Linked DNA regions of Homo sapiens: regions 1 and 2 are each linked to region 3. Evidence: promoter capture Hi-C in human tissues and cell types (Jung and others, 2019). All regions are on one chromosome and are shown on one strand. Each heading gives the region's core, a stretch centred on a gene start or on the middle of the fragment in contact. The rest is flanking DNA. Distances are from core to core; before and after follow the strand shown. Region 1 overlaps NAP1L4 (nucleosome assembly protein 1 like 4). Region 2 overlaps ZNF195 (zinc finger protein 195). Region 3 holds the start of OSBPL5 (oxysterol binding protein like 5).

The links. The method cuts DNA at HindIII sites, captures the fragments that hold promoters and counts their contacts. A contact is called where the count stands out against the background at its distance.
Region 1: a fragment that was not itself captured here is called in contact with the fragment with the promoter of OSBPL5 in region 3 in 3 of the 25 tissues and cell types used here (adrenal gland, liver and mesendoderm cells).
Region 2: a fragment that was not itself captured here is called in contact with the fragment with the promoter of OSBPL5 in region 3 in 1 of the 25 tissues and cell types used here (mesenchymal stem cells).

Annotation. Positions count from the first base shown.
Region 1 is chr11:2,954,098-2,958,019 of GRCh38, reverse strand. It overlaps NAP1L4 (nucleosome assembly protein 1 like 4), which reads left to right. Exons shown (of 16, transcript NM_005969.4): 11 at 2,254-2,276; 12 at 3,374-3,493. Among named protein-coding and RNA genes, the nearest start is that of SNORA54, 7.8 kb to the left of the region's middle. The HindIII fragment of the contact is 6,881 bases long and covers 1-3,922 here.
Region 2 is chr11:3,371,282-3,375,141 of GRCh38, reverse strand. ZNF195 (zinc finger protein 195) reads left to right here. Exons shown (of 6, transcript NM_001130520.3): 2 at 3,439-3,565. Among named protein-coding and RNA genes, the nearest start is that of ZNF195, 5.9 kb to the left of the region's middle. The HindIII fragment of the contact is 4,685 bases long and covers 1-3,860 here.
Region 3 is chr11:3,164,031-3,167,862 of GRCh38, reverse strand. OSBPL5 (oxysterol binding protein like 5) reads left to right here and starts at 2,553. Exons shown (of 22, transcript NM_020896.4): 1 at 2,553-2,647. RefSeq lists enhancers at 1,359-2,071, 3,815-3,832. The HindIII fragment of the contact is 28,319 bases long and covers 1-3,832 here.

The DNA.
Region 1 (3,922 bases), core at 1,134-3,633, 210 kb after region 3:
TGTGTCTGGTTCGCACCCCCCGGGGACCACTCCCAGCCTCGGAGAGCTGCTGGGTTTGCTCTGCAGGTACCCGTTACTGCTGTACGCTGGTTCTAGTTGTGCTGCTTTTGGATCATCTGCTTAGTCCCCCTTTTCTTGTAATTTTTTATGCATAATTTGATAGAATTTTTTGGAATTTATATATTGTAAGAAACACAAGTAGTTGGGACTTTCATTTTTGAAAAACATCGGCAGAATCACAGCTTGGAAGCTGCTTCTTTTTGTTTATTTATTTATTTTTTAAATTTTCCTAAGTGGTAAAATAAAGATGAGACCTTTGAGCTAGTAAAGGTTGACCAATTGATTTTAAGAGTAAATTTCTTGGGATTTTTCATATAATTTCCTAATCGCGAGAAAATGTGAAGGTCAAGCAACTTGTCAGTGTTAAAATATCCATATTCTCTTTAGTTTCCATGAACTAAAACATAATTTGAAGTGAAGAGATGCCAGCCCCTGCTGCAGATAATCAGTGAGTGTTTGTTTGTATGTGGGGCCACAGGGCGGATCTCTTCTCCAGTCTGAGTGATTGATTTTTTGATTTTGTCTCTGAGCTTAGCACCCTTATTTATCAAGCTGCCCTTCAGAGTTCAGTCCATTATTTTAATTGTGGTGCCTATTTTCTGCAATTAGACTTTGAACCTAGAAGATGCAAATACATACGGTTTGGGGAATGAGAGCAGTCATAAATTTAGATATTACATTTCCTTTTTTTGGAAGATTCCTTTTAGACACTTGGGTTGGGCATACTGGAGATTGTCTGTGAATTCAGCGTGAAGAAGGGAGGCTTTAATTTCTGGAATCACTTTGTGTAGGAAGTTCTCTTAAAACTGATTTAAAAATAATTTTTAGGATAAAAATGGAGTTGATAATGGACTCAAGGGAATTTTTAAGTGTTTTTTTTTTTAGATTCTAAAACTTTTAGGGTATGATGGTTGCACAACTCTAAAATTAACGTACTGAAAGTCATAAAGTTGTACATTTAGAGTGTATGCCTTTTAATGGTATGTAAATCCCATCAGTAAAGCCACTTTTAAAGTAATCAAACACATAATACCAAATGGTAAGTGCTTTGAAAAAAATTGAGGATGGCTGCGGAATAGGTAATGGGGTAGTGAAGGAACAGACAAAATGGACTCCTGTGGTGTGAAGTGAAGGAGGCATTAGCTAGTGAGTCCAGCTCCTTTGTCCTTAAAACTGCAAAGCCAGTCCAGAAGTATGAGTGTTCAGAGTCCTTGTACTATTCATGACTTGGGCCAGAGTGCCCTGGGGAGCATGCTGCTCCAGCATTTAGACACCCAGCCATGCTCCTAACCCATGTCTAAAACCCCTGGGTGATGCTGGCACACCGAGGCTTGGGAACTCTGCCTCACTCATGGGTGGTGTTTACGCACCCAACATTCATGTCTCAGCAGCAAACAGCAAGTGCTGCCAGGGTTGTGGTCGCTTAATGGGAAGGGAGACTCAGAGAGGAGAGCCCAGTGAAGATTGAAAAGGCAGGTATGAGACTAAGCAGAGTAAACATTCAACTCCTGATGAAGCTCAGGGTCTTGTAGTAAATGTTTCTAAAATCAGGGGGTTGGATCTTCTACCAGTTGAACGTTGCACAGCTTCATTGAGTGTGGTTAGAAGTCCCTATCTGTCTTGGTGGGCTTAGCTCGTCTGAGCATCAGCTTTCGCTGAGGAATTGCGCCACTCTACAGGGGCCCCTGGTGGGCATTCCAGCACTCTCCAAACAAACAGAAATGCAGTTTCTGTCTCGCTGATTTGCAGTGCCTTAGTAACACTCACAGCTTATAAGGCTTAAGGACTTTCTCTTTCCTGCACCATCATGTATAGTTCTGCGGGACATGAGTTAAGTTTCCCCATAAAGCACAAATGCACTGAATGGCCACAGCCTGGGGGCTGTTTGCCATTCCTCCTGTTAATATATTAACTCTCTCAAAATGATCTTCTCAAGCTTGAGTGCCAGCCCATGGCACATGATGGAGGAGGAGAAGGGAGGGGGGCATAGAGGCACTCAGGCCAGCTTCAGAAGTGGTGGATGGAGCTTGCAAAGATGTCTGTGAGGAGATGCAAGGCTTTGGGGATTTCTGTTAAACCTCGAGGTGAGAAATGTTACATTTTATCTACCAGCACAGCTTCCTCCTGTGTGGGCTTTAAAATTCTGGGAGTTGTCACTGTAATTTAAATATGTTTTGTCTTTTCTTTTTCTAGCATCCGGGGATGGAGAATCACTGGTAAGATTTGTTGTTAATAGTCTTATTTTCCTGTTGAAGTCTCTCCTGAGTGAATGTCTACTTGTCTACTTGTTAAAAAAAGTCCAGTCCTGGCTGTGTGTGGACTGGGTATGCCAGTGATCTTAATGCTTTGGGAGGCTGAGGTGGGAGGACTGCACGAGTCCAGGAGTTTGAGACCAGCCTGGGCAACATAGCACAACCCCATCTCCACAAAAAATTAAAACCAAATAAATTAGCCAGCCGAACATGGTGGTTCACGCCCGTAATACCAGCACTGTGGGAGGCCAAGGTGGGTGGATCACCAGAGGTCAGGAGTTCAAGACCAGTCTGGTCAACATGGTGAAACCCCGTTTCTGCTTAAAATACCAAAAAAAAAAAAAATTAGTTGGACACGGTGGCAGCGCCTGTAATCTCAGCTACTCAGGAGGCTCAAGCAGGAGAATCACTTGAACCCGAGAGGAGGAGGTTGCAGTGAGCTGAGATTGCACCACCGTATTCCATTGGGCGACAGAGCAAGACTCCGTCTCAAAAGATAAAATAATAAATTAGCTGGACATGGTGGTGCACTGTGTAGTTCCAGGGTCGCTGGGGCCCAGGAGCTTGAGGCTGGAGTGAGCTGTGATTGCACCACTGCCCTCCAACCTGGGTGATAGAATAAGACCCTGTCTCTTAAAAAAAAAAAATCCATTTCTGTTTCCTAAAACTCTGGGATTAATTTGAAATCATTACACATCTAAGTAAAAGTATGTGTTTCATATGTTGATTTCAGTAGCAAATGTGCAGTGCTTTAATACTGCCTGTTTCCCATATGTGAGACTGATACCGCCTACTCTGGGTGAGACCTTTGGACAAGTTGTGGAGCTGTAGGGCCCTCACTTCCCACTTTCTCTGCCATTTTGCTTCAGTAGCTCTTTAAAGCTACTTAAAGTTGTTTTAAAGGGGCTTTGAGTGTCTAGTGGCTGTCCCCCAGCAGTGCAGGAGTTTGGTGTTTTAAGTTAAGTAAATCAAAAGTGAGGGGCTGAGGTTTGGCTGAGGGTGGTGAAGTGAATGTTTTTATCCCATTAAAATGAGTTAACACGTAGGTTTTTCCTCCTCAGGATGAAGATTCTGAATTCACATTAGCCTCTGATTTTGAAATTGGACACTTTTTCCGTGAGCGGATAGTCCCGCGGGCTGTGCTGTACTTCACTGGGGAGGCCATAGAAGATGATGACAATGTATGAGGCTCGGGGAAGGGGGGCTTCCACCTGGGTGCTTATCTCTGTTGGTGCAGAGTGGCCCTGAATTGTGGCTTAGGAAACCCCCATGCCTAATCTTTTTATTACATCATCAGCCAGATATGTAGTCCAAGCTGCTGTCCTTGTTGTGGGGGGAATACGCTTGAAGAGGAGAAGTCTGAGGAACAGAGCAGGAAAAGCAGGTGTCTGTGAAGCAGTTTCAGAGGTGATTGCCAGTTTCCTATGTGAGCCCTGCCTAGTGACTCAACAATATTCTCTCAAAACCTAAGCTTCAGGGAACTTGTGAACACAGGGAATATCTCTTTTATGGAGGTCTGGCCACAACAAACATTTATTGACAGTGGACTTATGCTAGCCTGTGGTTCATCAACCCAAAAGAAATAGAAATTCCTGAACTTCTATCTAATT
Region 2 (3,860 bases), core at 919-3,418, 210 kb before region 3:
GGCTTCACCCTGGACTCTCCTCCGACAGAGTTAACTACAGAATTAAATCAGAGTTTTGGGTTTAGCTACAGAGTTAAATCAGTTTGGAGTTTAACTACAGAGTTAAATCAGAGTTTGACTCCTGCTGCCTCTCCGGAACTGATACACAGAATTTTCGGAAACCCCAAAGCAGATAAATGGGATCAAAGGACTCTCTATTTTGGAGCCTTAATTTTTCTTTTTTACTAACACCAGCGCTGTTAGAGACATCGTATCCAGCAAGCTCTTTCTCAGTCCTGTGGGTCTAATAGTTGCTTCACAAGCCACAAGAAAGTGAAGATAAACACAACAATGGAAAGTGCCTTTGCACTACACTTCATCCCCTCTGTATCCCTTCCATTGGTCTATCTGGAGCTTTTATCACTACACTTTTAAAACGTTAATGATAGGAAAATAGAAGAGGAACCACAAAGCCTGGTCCCTTCATCTATATCTTGAGAGTTGCAGGACACTTGGTTCCATCACCCAGGGTGTGGTGAGGATTAACTCACATGACGTGAGGTGCCCAGCACAGTGCTGTCACATACATCCGAGCACCCCGTGCCTGCTTAATAAACACTGCATTCATACGTGTGTACACATTGTTTTCCAAATGCAGACAGACTCAGACATTGCTTCCTTCTCCAGCCCTGGAAAACTTTAAAGAGCCAGGAAATAATGTAATCTTTCAGAATAGAGATTGGCTGTCTCCATTTGCACCAGAAGAACTTATGTTGTGGTCAGAGGGTTGGGTGTAAGGGACTGTGCTGGGGCTGCTTTCTTTAGCTGAGTGTTAATGATCACAAGTCTTGGGGGAGCAGCATCACCATTAATGGCAGAACTGTTAAAAAATCCAACCCATGAACCCCTTTGAAATCTTCAGAATCACATGACTTAGAGTGGGGCCAAAATTACCAAAAGATTCATATGCACATTGAAGCTTGAGAAGCAAGGCTTAGCTAAATGGTTCTCAGCCTGGCTTCTAATTAAATCACATGGACAACTCAAAAAAAGGCCCTCACCTTTGCCCTCACAGATTCTGCCTATTGGTTTGGGTGGAAGCACCAGTGCTGTTTAAGTCACATGCATCATGGGATTCTAAGGTGTGGCCAGAATCAGTGATGGGGGGTTTCAGATGCATTTGTACGAGTTGAGCTCAGCCTTGGTTCCAAAGGGAGGTCACAGGGCCTTCTTTGCCTAGGTTTCAGAGGCCAGCTCAGTGCAGCTTATACTCCAATTGCTGAAGCAGAATTGCTGTTGTTTAGCAGGAGAGGGAACCTGAGAGCAGGAAGAGAGAAAGTCACATTTTGATCTCCATGTAGAAGTTTACTGTTCCTGAATCTCTTTTATAAAGAACAGAAAAGCGTGGACTTTTTCTGTATTTCTTGGTCTTTCTGTTGATGGTTGTGGTGGTAGCAGGTGAAGGGGTTGTGCTAACACCTTTAAAGGCATATTCTCACGATGCAGGTGTGATTTGTCCAGAGAATCTTTCCTAAGAGGAAATCCCAGAGAAGCAGGAGAAAGAGAAAGAAATGGCTGGTGCTCAGGTAAATGCATCTCAGGTCAGGGGTTGTGTCCACTTTTGCTCCTGAAATGTCATGTGTTTAGAATTTGGAAACCTTTACTTCTCTACTTGTGGTGTTTCTCCATAGTAAGTTTGTTTCAACTACTTTTTTTTCTTATAATAATGAAGGGTCTCTGAAAATATTTGTTTTCTATATACCAAAGCCGTCTCTCTGTTATCTTCACCTTGACTTCTTATATGCCATGAAGAATTCTTACCATGACTTTATGACCTGCAGTATTAAAAAGTTCACTTCGTGGCACTGAACTTGTGGATACCCAGGATTCCTCTTGAGGATGGGGTGGGTTTTTGGATATCAGCAAAGAAGGGAAATGTGCACTCTTTAGGTTTCATCTGGATGCTCCATAAGCTGCATGCAGAACAGGACTAAGAAAATAAACATTTAAACCAGATGACATTTATCTCTCAGAATAACTCAAAGCATTCTGGAAAAGAGAAAAATGAAAAGACACTTGCTTTTTAGAATGCTAAAGAAAGACTCTTTTAATACACTATTAGAGATTACTGCTGGGCATGGTGGCTCATGCCTATAATCCCAACACTTTGGGAGGCCTAGGTGGGCAGATCGCTTGGGGCCAGGAGTTCGAGACCAGCCTGACCAACATGGTGAAACCCCATCTCTACTAAAAAAATACAAAAATTATCCAAGCGTGGTGGCACATGTGGGTAGTTCCATCTACTCCGGAGGCTGAGGGACGAGAATTGCCTGAACCAGGGAGGCAGAGGTAGCAGTGAGCCGAGATCGCGCCACTGCACTCCAGCCTGGGCTACAGAGTGAGACTCAGTCTCAAGACAAAAGAAAACAGATTACAGAACCTGGGAGATATTTGTCAGAACCTGGGAGATATTTGTCAGAACATAGGAGATATTTATTTGTCAGAACCTGGGAGATATTTATTTGTCAGAACCTGGGAGATATTTGTCAGGACCTGGGAAATATTTGTCAGAACCTGGGAGATATTTGTCAGAACCTGGGAGATATTTATTTGTCTCTTGAACTTTGCATAACACTAAGGTTTCGGTATGATTTGATTCAGATTATAATTGACCTTTTGGCCAATATCACACCAGTAATATGTCCTTCTCTGTGCATTGGCACGTGATAAAAATCTGTCCTATTACAGTTGATATTAGTTTTATTCAGTTGTTTAAAGAGCTCCCTGACAGATTTTCCATTGTGGAGTTTATTTTTTTCTCTTTTAAGTACCTTGAGGAGATTTACTAATTAATGTGCATAAATAATCACATTTAATCTGAAAGGTTTTGCTTCTTAGATTCTTTTTGCATATGCCTTGCTTTAGAAGATGAAGAATCTCATCTCTCTTTATGGTTTAGAAAAACTGGGATAAACCCAAGCTTGCCACTTACAGGATTTTTGACAAAATATTGTCCTTGGGCCCAAAGGACTGGCATCACTGGTGAGCGCGTTAGAAATTCGGAAACTCAGCCTTGACCTCCGATTTCCTGAAGCAAAATCTGCACACTAGTTTATTGGACACATGAAAATTGGAGAGGCAGCTTCTAACTCACCATGACTTTTCTGCCTGCGAAATATACACAGCTTATTCATGTGACGTAAATGTAGCACTCAAAAATGGACATGCCTTTGTTGATGCCCTTAATGTTATACTTGTTATCAACCAGAAAAGTATTGTATATACACTGCTTATGTGGCTCTCAGGCAATTCTCTTTCCTCAGAGTTAGAGAGTATTCTTCTGCTAAGAATTACCTTATTGTATAATTTCAGTCACTTGTGTAAGTCAGAACCAGTTCTCTTCACTCGCTCATTTCACCTCGAATCAAGTATTTGTTATTGTTGTTGTTTCTTCTTCAGACTCTGTTGACGTTCAGGGATGTGGCCATAGAATTCTCCCTGGAGGAGTGGAAATGCCTGGACCTCGCTCAGCAGAATTTGTACAGGGATGTGATGTTGGAGAACTACAGAAACTTGTTCTCCGTTGGTGAGGATAACTTCAATACGTAGTTCCTCCTATGCCCTAAAGAGTTCCTTTCGTTCCTCTGCGGAATGTTTTTTGGGAGTTTCTGCGTTGCATGAATGAGTTTCAGATCCCTGCTTTTAAGAAAAACATGGGGAATAGTTGATGTAAAAAAAAAAAAAATCTTCAAAATGTGGTTCATCTTGACATAAACCTTCCTTTTTTTTCAGCTGATCTGTATCTTTCACTCTAGTGACAATTCCAGAAATTCAGTGGCATGAAATATTGTTGCCCACAACTTAAAGTCAAATTTCCACCA
Region 3 (3,832 bases), core at 1,304-3,803:
TCCAGGCAGTGGCAAATGCCACCTGGAAACTGGAGGCAAAACCGCCCCTAGCAGAGAACTGCCATTCTGGAGACTTGGATTGGAACTGCCCTGATTTTAAATTGCACTGTCCTTGCAAAGCATTTTTTAAGTTCTTACTTATCACAGACATATTTTTCTGAATTACCATAAATTCCAAACTAACCAGCTGGGCGCTGCAAGCCGTTCCTTCCCATAGTCCACTCATGGTCCCCAGTGCCCACCAACAGCCAGCGCTTGCAAAGTCTGTTGGCCCACTGGGGACTTATGGCAGCTCATGCAGCGGAAACTGCTCTGGTCATCGCCATTTATAGATGAGGAAACTGAGGCACGGCCAGTTGCACAAACCTGCTCAAGGGCTCCTGGATGGTGGGGCCTACTGGGCGTGCCCCCCTAAAGCTGGTGCCATTGGCACCTGGCTCTGCCCATCTCTGAGACCTCTGACGCCTTCATTTCCTGCGTTGGCCACCAGGCACAGATGCTGTGTCCATCTGACAGGAGAGGAAGCGGGGTCCCAGGAGGAACAAGCCACTGCCTGGTGACAGAGCTTCTTTCTGGCAGCAGCAGGATTCGGACCTACCTCTTGCTGGGGGCAACCTCTTCGGCTCACTGCCTCTCCAAAACCAGGCAAGAGGCTGGAAATGGGGCTTTCTGGAAAAATGCAGAGCCTGCTGGGAAGTGGGGCAGACAACTGACACCTGTCACTGAGCCTGGCAGGTGGCGTGTTCTTCATTTCTTGCATGGCCATCTGGCTGTCAGACACTACCCAGTGAGAGGCTCAACCCTCGTCCTGCTCCACCCCAGCCCCACCCTGCTGTCATCTATGGCCCCTTCCCCCACCCTCAGGTGCCTCTTTGACTTTTGACCTCTGCCCTCAGCAGTGTCATTTCATGAAACCCAGGCCCTGGACAGCCAGCATCAAGCAACTGGCAACCTTCCCTACTGCCGCCCCTGAGACCTCCGCCCTAGGGATAGGGGCTTTGTTTTCTTCCCTAATTCCCTTTGGATTGGCTCCAGCAACCAGCAAGTTACCAGGCAGCAGCACCTCAGCTTTGGGCGGAGTCTTCAAAGAGCAGACCCAGCAGTTGTATGTGGATCCCAGCTGCACAGACCCTCTCCTGCAGAGGCAGAGGCCGCCTGCCACAGGCCACGCGGAGCAGGGTCCCACCATGGCCCTGAGCATCTTGACTGAGCAGTTCTGCATCCCAAGGCCTCACAAGGTGACTATGGAATGGCAATGCTAGCCCTGGGGGTAAGCTTAGGGCAAGTCCGATCAGCCCACTCGCCTCCGTAAGCCGTGGGTTCCTGTGATCCGCACACAAGCGGCTGGTGCTGCTATCCCCAGGAGGATACCCACCAACTTGTCTAACGGGGTGGGCAAGGCCAGGGCTGAGACGGGAAGGGGTCTGGCTTGTTGTGGGCAGAGCACCTGCATGCTGTGCCGTTCCCCCTTCAGGTGCTGGAAGGAGCCTTCCTGGGCCGCTCGCCCTCCGCAGCCCTGCTGGGAGGTCTTGCAGACGCCCATGATAGCCAGGCTTGCGGCCTCCCGAATGCAACTGCAGCGTGAAACCGTAGAAACACACGTGTCAGTGGCAGTTCTGCCTGGGGAGGAGCCCAGGGCTCTCTGCGGAGGGTCAGTTCTGTCCCTGTTAAGGTTCTGTGTGGAAAAGACTCCACGCCCTCTTGGGGTCTACCTACATCTGGGGATGCCCGAGCCCAGCTCCCAGTTTTTCTGGTCATTTGGGGACATACCATAGGAAGGACCTGCAGTGCACCTCAGGCTTGGACACTAGGGATGCAAACGCCCTGGGGCCAGCCCTGGGCCCACACCCAATTTAGGGTCTACAGGCAGGGAGCCAGGGGCCAGGGGAGGACTTCTCAGCTCCCAAGGGGATGCTGTTTAGGGGAATTAGAATGTCTTTTATATACAAGAGAACTGAGGGGTCTAAAAAGGTCTCTGGGGGGTAGAAGAAGGTGAGGAGAAAACACAGGAAGAAATGCACATGAGGGGAGGTTCTTGTCAAAAGGGTCCTGAGAAAGACGTACAGTTAGAGTGTGACTGAGGGTCCTTCTTAGCACATAAGGGGCAGGGACAACGGGCTCAGATGTCTGGGGCTCCTCTTGTGTTCTGATGGCTCCTGAGACGGGGAGAAACGGCGACAGTTTCCTGGGTTCAGGAAGGGAGAGGAGGCGCCTCGCACCCTGGCTAGGGTGGGCTGGGGGCCTGCACCCCTAAGTTGGAGAACCCCACGAAGCTGACCCCACTCACCGCTGCCCACCCCGCCAAGCCTCCTGGCCATTTTCAGCGGAGTGTCCCGACCTCTGGCCGCCCGGGTGGGTGTGAGCCCCGGAGCGCGCGCGGGGGGTTGGGGGATGAGGAGAAGCGGCAGCCGGTGGGGGGCAGCCCCTGGGCGCCCGCTCCGCGCGGCGATTCGGCCCGGGTTTTGCGGCCGCCGCGCCTCCTCCTCCCGCCTCCGGGCTCCCTGGGCCTCCTCCCTCCGCCGCGCCCTCGCTCCGCCTCGCGCGGGGGGACCATCTGCTGGCATTTCCTGCAGCCAGGCCCGCGCCGCCAGTGGAGCCCCCGCGCGCCCGGCCGGCCCGGAGCACCGAGCTCGCGGCACGGTAGGAGGTAGGAGCGCGGCGGCCCGGGGGGCGGCAGGGCGGCGGGGGGATGGCGGGCTGGGAAGGATCCGGAGGGCCCCGCCGGGCAGGGCCGGAGCGAACCGAGGGCCGCGGGGGGCCGGCCGAAGGGATCCAGGAGCTCGCGCCGCAGCCCCGCGGACCCTGGCAGTAGCCAGTGCGGGGAACCACGCCGCGGGGCCGGTCGCGCGCTGGGGAGCTGGGGAGCGCGGGAGCCTGGGGGCGCCCCGGGCCAGGACGGGTCGGCGCCTGGCGGGTTGGGGCGGGTGGGGCCCGCGAGTGGGAAGCGGCGCGCCCAGCTCGGCTCCCCACTTGGTGGGGCTTAAAGGAGCCGGGACCGCCAGGGAAGGTGGCTGGGTCTGACCACCACAAACCCTGGCCAATCAGGGGGTCTGTCCCCCCAGCTCGGCCGACGCGGGCTCCAAGGAGCCAGGTCTTGATGGGTCTGCAGGGGGTCTGGGATCTGAGTCTGGCGTCCCAGCTGCGGGCTTGGGAGGACTGCTGTGTCTGAGTCCGCAGAGTCAGGGGGCTGCCTGGATTACAGGCTAGGGAAGGACCTTGCCCACAGCCCCCATCTCTGGGGCACTGACCCCCTGAAGATGTGGAGCCTTAGGGATTGTTGAGGTGCCTGAGTCCTCAAGAGGGTCTTGTGCACTTGAAGATTCCTCCCGGGGAGCGGGGTGCAGGAGGGTGGGGCAGGCAGGAAGGAGGCTGGAGTCTGCAGCCCCCCGGGCAACAGGCCCGTCCTGGGCTTCCCAGGCACCGCCCCCAACCCCCACCCAGACCGCTGGGCTGCCTCCTGTCAGAAGCCAACTGGAGTTAGGGTTTGGGGTGACTCCTGGGGGTATGGAGGGGTCACAGGGTGGGCTTACCTGCCCCTCCCTCGTCCCTGGGCTGAGCCCAGCCCCTCCCTCATCCTTGGGCTGAGCGGGTCTGCCCCGCCGAAGCGGCTGGGTGGATTTCCTCTCTTGCCGTTTCGCAACTTGCTCCCCTCTGTGTGTCTGCCCCAGTCTCTTCAAGGTGCCTTTTACAGGAAGACTTCTGTAAGGGTCCCACCCCACCTGATACAGCCTCCCAAAGCCTGGAGAAGTGGGCCAGCCTTTGGGATCCTAGATAGATGCTCTTGGGTCTGCCTGCACCAGGGCTGATCCAGATCCCAGACTGAACAGAAACT